Linked DNA regions of Homo sapiens: region 2 is linked to region 1. Evidence: promoter capture Hi-C in human tissues and cell types (Jung and others, 2019). All regions are on one chromosome and are shown on one strand. Each heading gives the region's core, a stretch centred on a gene start or on the middle of the fragment in contact. The rest is flanking DNA. Distances are from core to core; before and after follow the strand shown. Region 1 holds the start of NBAS (NBAS subunit of NRZ tethering complex). Region 2 overlaps NBAS (NBAS subunit of NRZ tethering complex).

Region 1 (5,078 bases), core at 1,530-4,029:
TTTTGTACATGCTATGGTAAGTGGGGTATGGATGAGGATGGATAAAACAATTAACATGGTGTGAGGCTGGGCATGGTGGTGCGTGCCTGTAATCCCTGCACTGTGGGAGGCCGAGGCAGATCACTTGAGCCCAGAAGTCCAAGACCCCCCATCTCTACAAAAAATAATAAAGTTAGCCCAGCATGGTGGCATGCACCTGTGGTCCCAGCAACTCAGGAGGCTGAGGTGGGAGGATTGCTTGAGCCCAGGAAGTAGAGATTTCAGTTAGCTCTCTTTGTGCCACTGCACTCTGGCCTCAGTGAAAGAGTGAGACCCTGTTTCAAAAACAAAAACAAACAAACAAAAATAGTGTGATGATGGTAAAATAAATAAATTCTTCATGGTGTATTTGCAGTGGTCCCCTTTGCACACCAGCTAAGAAGGAAGCATCCTTTGCCAGTTTGACCAGCTATCTCCTGGCCGTGGTTGTACAGATTGAGTGAAAGTGGTGAAGAGAGTGATGAAACAGAAAGCAACCCCAATATCTATCTGAGAAAGGATGAGACAGAGGAATAAAGAGCCAAGGAAACTTGGTGTGGAGAAATAGGTGGGGTTGTACTGAGGTACTGGAGGACTCCAGTAACCAGCCCTCACACCGCATTCCATGTGCATGGTGTTCCTGCCTCTTCATGTTCTACCGCATGCAATGTGGGCGGGGCTCCCCGGAGGTATACAGTTTGTCAGCCTTGTGCGGTAGGGAGAAGACACGTCTGGTGTTCACAATGAGGGGTTTGATTGAAGGGCACAGCTGCTATGCAGAGAAATACTATGGGGAGACAATGTGTAAAAGATTTTCTGGGAAGTCTGTCATTTATTCAACAAATAATATATATTTTGTCCTCTGCTCTATGCCAGGCACTGTTATAAATTCTGGGGATATAGCAGGGATGGATATAGCATTTGCATGCATATAGATAGAGCACCTGGCATGGCTTACCTTTTAGTGAATGGAGACAGATAATAAGCAAATATACTGTATAGCCATTTAAGTGATGACAAGTGTAATGGAAAAAATAATAGAGCAGCTCTGGAAAGCTGGAGTTGGAGAATGGTCATTGCAAATTTAAAAATGAGCAGTCAAGGTAGGCTTCAGAGAGAGACGACATTTGAGCAAAAACTTGAAGGAGATAAGGGAGGAACCAGGTAAACATCTGGTAGAAAGCCTTCCAAGTGGAGGGGACAGGCTTTGCAGAACTCCTGAAGTTGATGTGTGTCTGGTGTGTTCAGAAATAGAGCCAGTGTGGCTGAAGGTAGTAGGGGGAGCAGGAAATGAGGTGTGAGATTTAGGGGAGCAGGCAGATGACGTAGGGCTTTGAGGTCATTAAACTTTGAGAGAAATGGGAGCTGGTTAGAGGCTTCCCAGCAGAGGCTTTTAATTGCATCACCGCCTAATGCATCTTGATGGATATCATGAATATAATTATCTCAAGGGATATTCAGTATTTGTGTTTCTTTTGATGTGAAACAGTGTAATACTTTGTACAGTATATATTCATTCATGTTACAGTAGGCTCTGCTTATAACTGTCCACAAAGAGGTATTTGTTGAATGAATGAATGAATGAACAAATGGGGTTGACCTTTTCGCTCCCTCCATGCGGGTTCTCAACCTATTATTTCAACTTTATTGCCCCTACACCCTTTCTCAACTTGGGTTCTATTCACCCGTCTTGTTGAGTACTAATTAGGAAAAAAAAAAAGGCAGGCTAGTGGGAGCAGGGAAAAACAAAGAGATAAGGCAAATTAGCTATACGTCTGTCTTTCTTCATGGTCCAAAACATATAAACAAAAGGAAGAAACAAATAAGCCATAGGTCTACTTTTCTTTATGGCCCAGGACATATGGCCCTTCTACCCAGATAACGTACTTAACTCACAAACTTCCTGCTTACCTTCAAATGCCTCAATTTCTGAAACACTTCAGCTGACAAAAAAAAAAAAAAAAAAAGAAAGAAAGAAAAAAAAAAAGCAAGTTAACTCCCTGCTACCTGGTGTTATCAATCACTCCAAGTTCCAGTCTATAAAATTCTCAACAAGCCTTTGTTTCCTAGCAATGAGCTCCTCCTCTGCTGAGTCGGCCCGCTGCTCCCTGGCAACGAACTTTCATACTTTCTTTAATCTGTCTTTCTTTATCTACCACTGTCTTGGTAAATTCTTTTACTCCCACACTGAGAAAGTCGTCACTCACTGGCGACACGTTGAAAGAGTTCTTTCAACTCTGTATTTCTGCCTCTGTCTCTGCTCATTCCATTTCCCGCTACTTGAAATGCTTCTCCAGTAGATTAAAATTCTGCCTATTGTTAAAGACGCAGGGACAAGCTCCACGTCCTCCAGGAAATCCCTGCAGACTCTGGCCTTCGTTGCCTTTTCTGAGCTCCTGTAGCATCCTTCCTCTGCTACCTTTCATTGGATAACTTTAGTTGTTTATTTTAAAACCACTGTTTGAACTCTCTCTACGTGTTAGGCAAAGAATATACAAATGAACATTAGCATTTCAGTGGGGTACCTTTACCATTTCTGTTTTATGGAAACTGAGTTATAAGAGAGGCTCAATGACTTGGCCGATCTCATGTAGATTAATGAACAAGGAGTGTATCAGGACCGGGACACAAGTCGTTCCCAAGACAAGCAATAGTCCCTGTCCTTCCTACTCATAAAAGGGTTAACCTAGCATTTCCTTGCCGTGAAACAAAAGCGGCCGCGGATAGAGAAGCTTGTCCTGTGAGGGATTCCGTAGAGACACTCCTCCGCTGCCTGAGTCCTCGGCGAACATGGCGGCCCCCGAGTCAGGGCCGGCTTTGAGTCCAGGCACTGCAGAGGGTGAGGAGGAGACGATTCTCTATGACTTGTTGGTCAACACCGAGTGGCCACCGGAGACTGAAGTACAGGTGAACCAGGCCCATCTACAGCAGCAGCCAGCTTGGCGCGGGCGCTTCGTGGGTAGAGCCACGTAGCAGGAGCCACGTAGGGGAGTGGAGACGGGTGGGTGGGGGACTAGGGCCGGTTGGCTTGTGCGGTCGCCTTGGCAACGGCACCTTGGGCTAGCGGGGGTCTAGGGCGGGGTGGGGTGGTGGTCCCTGAGATTCTTCCTGGGCTCAGAATTCGGTTGTTGGGGGCTGGAACTTCGTGCTCTGGGGAGCGTACGATCCCACTTTGGTTCTCAGTTTCGCTCTCTGTATTGGGAGGAGAGGGGATTGTTAGTGTCGCTCTCTGTATTAGGAGGGGAAGGCACAGCGCTGGACTCGAGGGTCCTTTCTCCTATCTGGACCCTCAGTGGTCCCTTCTCGCGGTCTGGCTAGGGCTAGTCTGGGCCGACGCTCAACTGCGATGGGAGAATTTTCCAGGACCTTACAGTCTGCAGCATCTGCCAGGCTGGTGCAGAGCGCAGAATCTGAGCCTTTACCCATACTGGGGGCTGGATCGCGCCAGGTCTTGTGTGTTTCAATAAAAGAGCATTTAATAAGGGTGTGCGTGTCCGTTCGTCTGTCTCGGTGTCACAGGTGCTGTGCTAGGTGCTAAGGATACAGAGATGAATATGTTTTCGTGGAGCTTCTCGTCTAGAGGGGAGACAGTCCCGTAAACGTTTTTCATAACCTAGCGTTTTATGCGCTATAGTTAGCGATGTGAGCAAAATGCCACGGAAGTGCAGAGTAAAGAGCTGCTGACTGGGATTGGGATCTCCGCTACAGAAGGGTTATAGAGGTTGATAATTTATGGACTGGATCTTGGGATTATCAGTTGTTTGGTAGTGAAGGCCTCCCGGGTCTGTGATGAAGAGTAGGAACCATGGATCCATGTTTATTTTATTTTATTTTTTATTATTATTATTTTTTGGATCCATGTTTATTTAACAGATATTTATTGAGTGCTTAACACGTGCCAGTTACTGTTTTAGACCCAGAGGAAGCAGCCAGATCGAAAAGAACCTTTATTAAAGATTATGTAGTCCAGCCCATGTGAGTTATCTTACATTTTTTCTGAGTGTTTCTTTGCTGGAGAAACGACTCATTTTTCAGCCCAAAGTTTGTATTTTTTTCCTCTGTAGCCTCCTTCCCACTGCAGTTTGTGCTTATCATGAATAATTTATTTTGTAGACGGGTAGAGATCTGCATATATTACTGTTTAATTTCAAGTACTTAGTTTGTCTTAATGTGAATATTTTTTGGGTTATGCAGCTAGGAAGCTGTTGCTGAGGCAGCTGGTTAGATAAGTTTCCACTCCTTAACACTCATTGGTTAATTGCAGTAATGTTTCAGAATGCTTACCATAAATTGATTCCAAAAAAGTAACCACAGAATTAACTTACTTTGAAACCCTTAGCACTTTGTTTTGTGTTTGTGTGTTGGGGGTGGGGGAGTTCAATTGATTTCTGCATTCTATCGATTTCTGCATTCTGTTGATTTCAGCTGTTGAATTATAAGCTCTTGGAGGGCAGACATCTGATTCATCTTTATATCTCTTCCCAGGGCCAAATTGTGTCTTGCATGAATCCAACAATCAATTCATGTTTATTGAGTGAAATAACTTTTCTGTGTTTTTTAAAAAAATCTGTCTACACTTACTGTATGTCCATTGTGCTTTTCTTGACAGCACTTTAGTGCATCTTATGCAGTGCCTAGCGTCATGAACCTACCCACGGTGTGTTCAGTCTATACTTATGGAATGGAATTATTTAATATAGCAATTACGTATCTGTGTATGTTTTGTTAGTAGCATTGTCTGTATAGATACACAACAGATAGTCAATGAATTGGCCTTGGAGATATGACCACTTTTCCTGTGAGCAAAACTTACAGCCTCAATAGAGTATGCTGAACTGGCAACCAGTATGGTCTTTGGCCTTGACTTCTCTTGTCTTTGGATTGGTTTTTGATTTGGAAACAGTTTCCAGCTTCAATCCTTGTTCTTTCCTGCAAGGTTAGTCCTGACATGTGCCTGTAGCTCTGCTATGCTCACTTTTCTCCTATTGTCCCGCGTCCTGTGTCTACTTTTTTTTTTTTTTTTTTTTTTTTTGAGGCAGGGTCTCACTCTGTCACCCAGG
Region 2 (5,078 bases), core at 1,528-4,027, 240 kb after region 1:
TCTCTGCCAGGCTTTGGTATGAGGATGATGCTGGCCTCATAAAATGAGTTAGGGAAGATTCCCTCTTTTTCTATTGATTGGGATCGTTTCAGAAGGAATGGTACCAGCTCCTCTCTGTACCTCTGGAAGAATTCGGCTGTGAATCTCTGGTTCTGGACTTTTTTTGGTTGGTAGGCTGTTAATTATTGCCTCAATTTCAGAGCCTGTTATTTGTCTATTCAAAGAGTCAACTTCTTCCTGGTTTAGTCTTGGGAGGGTGTATGTGTCCAGGAATTTATCCATTTCTTCTAGATTTTCTAGTTTATTTGCATAGGATGTTTATAGTATTCTCTGGTGGTTGTTTGTATTTCTGTGGGATCGGTGGTGATATCCCCTTTATCATTTTTTATTGCATCTGTTTGATTCTTCTCTCTTTCCTCTTTATTGCTCTTGCTAGTGGTTTATCAATTTTGTTGATCTTTTAAAAAAACCAGCTCCTGGATTCATTGATTTTTTGAATGGTTTTTTGTGTCTCTATCTCCTTCAGTTCTGCTCTGATCTTAGTTATTTCTTGCCTTCTGCTAGCTTTTACATTCGTTTGCTCTTGCTTCTCTAGTTCTTTTAATTGTGATGTTTGGTGTCGATTTTATATCTTTCCTGCTTTCTCTTGTGGGCATTTAGTGCTATAAAGTTCCCTCTACACACTGCTTTAAATGTGTCCCAGAGATTCTGGTACATTGTGTCTTTGTTCTCACTGGTTTCAAAGAACATCTTTATTTCTGCCTTCATTTCGTTATGTACCCAGTAGTTATTCAGGAGCAGGTTGTTCACTTTCCATGTTGTTGTGTGGTTTTGAGTGAGTTTCTTAATCCTGAGTTCTAATTTGATTGCACTGTGGTCTGAGAGAAAGTTTGTTGTGATTTCTGTTCTTTTACGTTTGCTGAGGAGTGTTTTACTTCCAATTATGTGGTCAATTTTAGAATAGGTGTGATGTGGTGCAAGAAGAATGTATATTCTGTTGATTTGGGGTGGAGAGTTCTGTAGATGTCTATTAGGTCTGCTTGGTCCAGAGCTGATTTCAAGTCCTGGATATCCTTGTTAACCTTCTTTCTCGTTGATCTGTCTAATATTGACAGTGGGGTGTTAACGTCTCCCATTATTAGTGTGTGGGAGTCTAAGTCTCTTTTAGGTCTCTAAGGACTTGCTTTATGAATCTGGGTGCTCCTGTATTGGGTGCATATATATTTAGGATAGTTAGCTCTTCTTATTGAATTGATCCCTTTACCATTATGTAATGGCCTCCTCTGTCTCTTTTGCTCTTTGTTGGTTTAAAGTCTATTTTATCAGAGACTAGGATTGCAACCCCTGCTTTTCTTTTTTGCTTTCCATTTGCTTGGTAGATCTTCCTTCATCCCTTTATTTTGAGGCTATGTATGACTCTACACGTGAGATGGGTCTCCTGAATAAAGCACAGTAATGGGTTTTGACTCTTTACCCAATTTGCCAGTCTGTGTCTTTTAATTGGGGTATTTAGCCCATTTATATTTAGGTTAATATTGTTAATGTGTGAATTTGATCCTGTCTTTATGATGTTAGCTGGTTATTTTGCCCATTAATTGATGGAGTTTCTTCCTAGCATTGATGGTCTTTACAATTTGGCATGTTTTTACAGTGGCTGATACCAGTTGTTCCTTTCCATGTTTAGTGCTCCCTTCAGGAGCTCTTGTAAGGCAGGCCTGGTAGTGACAAAATCTCAGCATTTGCTTGTCTGTAAAGGATTTTATTTCTCCTTCCCTTATGAAGCTTGGTTTGTCTGGATATGAAATTCTGGGTTGAAAATTCTTTTCTTTGAGAATGTTGAATATTGGCCCCCACTCTCTTCTGGTTTGTAGGGTTTCTTCCAAGAGATCTGCTGTTAGTCTGATGGGCTTCCCTTTGTGGGCAACCCAACCTTTTGTGCTGGCTGCCCTTAACATTTTTTCCTTTATTTCAACCTTGGTGAATCTGACAATTATGTGTCTTGGGGTTGCTCTTCTCGAGGAATCTCTTTGTGGTGTTTTCTGTATTTCCTGAATTTGAATGTTAGCCTGTCTTGCTAGGTTGGGGAAGTTCTCCTGGATCATATCCTGAAGTGTGTTTTCCAACTTGTTTCCATTCTCCCCGTCACTTTCAGGTACACCAATCAAACGTAGATTTGGTCTTTTCACATAGTCCCATATTTCTTGGAGGCTTTGTTTGTTTCTTTTTACTCTTTTTTTCTCTAACCTTGTCTTCTTGCTTTATTTCATTAATTTGATCTTCAATCACTGATACTCTTCCACTTGACCAAATTGGCTACTGAAGCTTGTGCATGCATCATGAAGTTCTCGTGCCATGGTTTTCAGCTCCATCTGGTCATTTAAGGTCTTCTCTACACTGTTTATTCTAGTTAGACATTCGTCTAACCCTTTTTCAAGATTTTTAGCTTCCTTGCAATGCATTAGAACATGCTCCTTTAGCTCGGAGAAGTTTGTTATTACCGACCTTCTGAAGCTTACTTCTGTTAACTTGTCAAAATCATTCTCCATCCATCTTTGTTCCATTGCTGGTGAGGAGCTGTGATCCATTGGAGGAAAAGAGGTGCTCTGGTTTTTAGAATTTTCAGCTTTTCTGCTCTGGTTTCTCCCCATCTTTGTGGTTTTATCTACCTTTGGTCATTGATGTTGGTGACCTACAGATGGGATTTTGGTGTGGATGTCCTTTTTGTTGATGTTGATGCGATTCCTTTCTGTTTGTTAGTTTTCCTTCTAAGAGTCAGGTTCCTCAGCTGTAGGTCCGTTGGAGTTTGCTGGAGGTCCACTCCAGACGCTGTTTGCCTGTTCATCACCAATGGAGGCTGCAGAACAGCAAATATTGCAGCACAGCGAATATTACTGCCTGATCCTTCCTCTAGAAGCTTCATCCCAGAGTGGCACCCCCTGTATGAAGTGTCTGTTGGCCCCTACTGGGAAGCGTCTCCCAGTTAGGCTACACGGGGTCAGGGACCCACTTGAGGAGGCAGTCTGTCCTTTCTCAGAGCTCAAACGCTATGCTGGGAGAACCACTGCTCTCTTCAGAGCTGTCAGACAGGGATGTTGAAGTCTGTAGAAGTTGTCTGCTGCCTTTTGTTCAGCTGTGCCCTGCCCACGGATGTGGAGTCTGTAGAGGCAGTAGTCCTTGCTGAGCTGCGGTGGGCTCCTCCCACTTCGCGCTTCCTGGCCACTTTATTTACCTACTCAAGCCTCAGCAATGGCCGACACCCCTCCCCCAGCCAGGCTGCTGCCTCACAGTTCTAGCTCAGACTGCTGCGCTAGCAGTGAGCAAGGCTCCATGGGCATGGGACCCGCCGAGCCAGGCAGGTGAGAGAATCTCCTTGTCTGCCGGTTGCTAAGACCTTGAGAAAAGCACAGTATTTTGGGCGGGAGTGTCCCATTTTTTTCAGGTACAGTGTGTCATGGCTTCCCTTGGCTAGGAAAGGGAAATCCCCCAACCCCTTGCACTTCCTGTGTGAGGCAACACCCCGCCCTACTTCATCTCGCCCTCTGTGGGCTGCACCCACTGTCCAACCAGTCCCAGTGAGATGAACCAGGTACCTCAGTTGGAAATGCAGAAATCACCTGTGTTCTGCATCGATCACGCTGCGAGCTGCAGAGCGGAGCTGTTCCTATTTGGCTGTCTTGGAACGGGGGGAGAGTTAAGCATAGATTTCCTCTGATTTTGGCCATATAACTTGTTTAGACAATGCTTTATATTCAAGGTTTGAGAACTAGCATTACAAATTAAATTCGTGCACACTGCTAAATGTAGAGCAGGTTTTATTTATTTATTTATTTTTTATGTTTAATGGCAACGTCCATGTAATTCAGTCTCTAGCCAGTATTACATGTTGTGCATCCCAGTGAAACTTACTTACCATCTTTTCTGAATATTTTGTCAAATATTGCTTCATATGGTTTGTGGATTCCAAGACTAAGAAACTTCCAAGTGTGGGTTTTGATTTCTACTTTATTAGGATCTCTGAGTCTGGGTGAGGGCTGCTGAGACAGTTTTGATGCCCAGAGGTAGAGTGGAGACTCATGTTCTCCACTGTTCCCATCAGTTCCCTACAATTCATGTTAGTTAGGAGAGCCCTGGGCTAGGCACATTATAGAGATTAATGCCTGGGATTATTGTGTGGGAGAAAAAAAGTCATGAGATAACTTCAACAACAATTGTGTTAGGGATTTGAGAAGAGAGATTCCTTTCCTTTCCATCTCAAATCCTGTGGAGAGTGGTATACTTGATGCCTGGGATTTTTCCAGTCTTGAAGCAGCTGGGAGGCCATGGGTTTAGTGTGGCCAGAAACAGCTGGCTGAGTGCAGTGCTGGAGACCAGGCATATATAACTTGTCCAGAAGTGTCTTCTAGGAAACCCCCTTTGGGGAATAAGTAACTGACAGGGAGCTTAAGCATTTGACGCAGTTTTCAGGGAGGATTTCTTTCATTTTTCTTCCCCAGCATTTTTATTGAGAAAATTTAAAATTCACAGTAAAGTTGAAATAATTTTGCAGTGAACTCCTGTTCAATCCTGCTCATTCTCCGTTCACTCCCGTACACTCCTGTGTACCCTCCAGTTAATATTGCCACATTTACTGTACCTGTATTTTTCCACCCCTCTATTCATCAACCAAACCCAACTTCTTTTCTGATGCATTTCAAAGTAAATCATAGATATCAGTAAACTTCACCTCTTGACACTACACTGCATATCTTTAACTATTTTTTACTTTTGTGTGTTTTAAAATTTACAGTGAATTACAAAAATCTTAGTTGTATGATTGTACAGATTGTGACAAGTGCAGCACCTGTGTAACCCTCACTCCTGTCAAGATGCAGACCTTATTGCCACCCTAGAAAGTCTTAGCCTCTTCCCAGCACACGCCCAACCCACACTTCCGACAGGGCACCCCATGCTCTGATTTTTCCCCACTGTAGATTAGTTTTGATTGTTCTAGAATTCATTAAATGCAATCATATATTTTGTATAACAAAGTGAAAGTTTTTGAGATTCATCTATGTTGTATCCATCCGTAGGTTTTTGTT

What was found. Contacts are between HindIII fragments. The study calls those that stand out against the background at their distance.
Region 2: a contact is called between a fragment that was not itself captured here and the fragment with the promoter of NBAS in region 1, in 1 of the 25 tissues and cell types used here (hippocampus).

Annotation. Positions count from the first base shown.
Region 1 is chr2:15,559,035-15,564,112 of GRCh38, reverse strand. NBAS (NBAS subunit of NRZ tethering complex) reads left to right here and starts at 2,779. Exons shown (of 52, transcript NM_015909.4): 1 at 2,779-2,925. The coding sequence starts at 2,809. LOC105373440 (a long non-coding RNA gene) reads right to left here and starts at 1,965. Exons shown (of 4, transcript XR_001739297.2): 1 at 1,930-1,965; 2 at 1-11. RefSeq lists an enhancer at 2,580-2,989. The HindIII fragment of the contact is 7,047 bases long and covers 568-5,078 here.
Region 2 is chr2:15,314,855-15,319,932 of GRCh38, reverse strand. All of the region lies in intron 38 of NBAS (NBAS subunit of NRZ tethering complex), which reads left to right. Among named protein-coding and RNA genes, the nearest start is that of NBAS, 240 kb to the left of the region's middle. The HindIII fragment of the contact is 3,878 bases long and covers 839-4,716 here.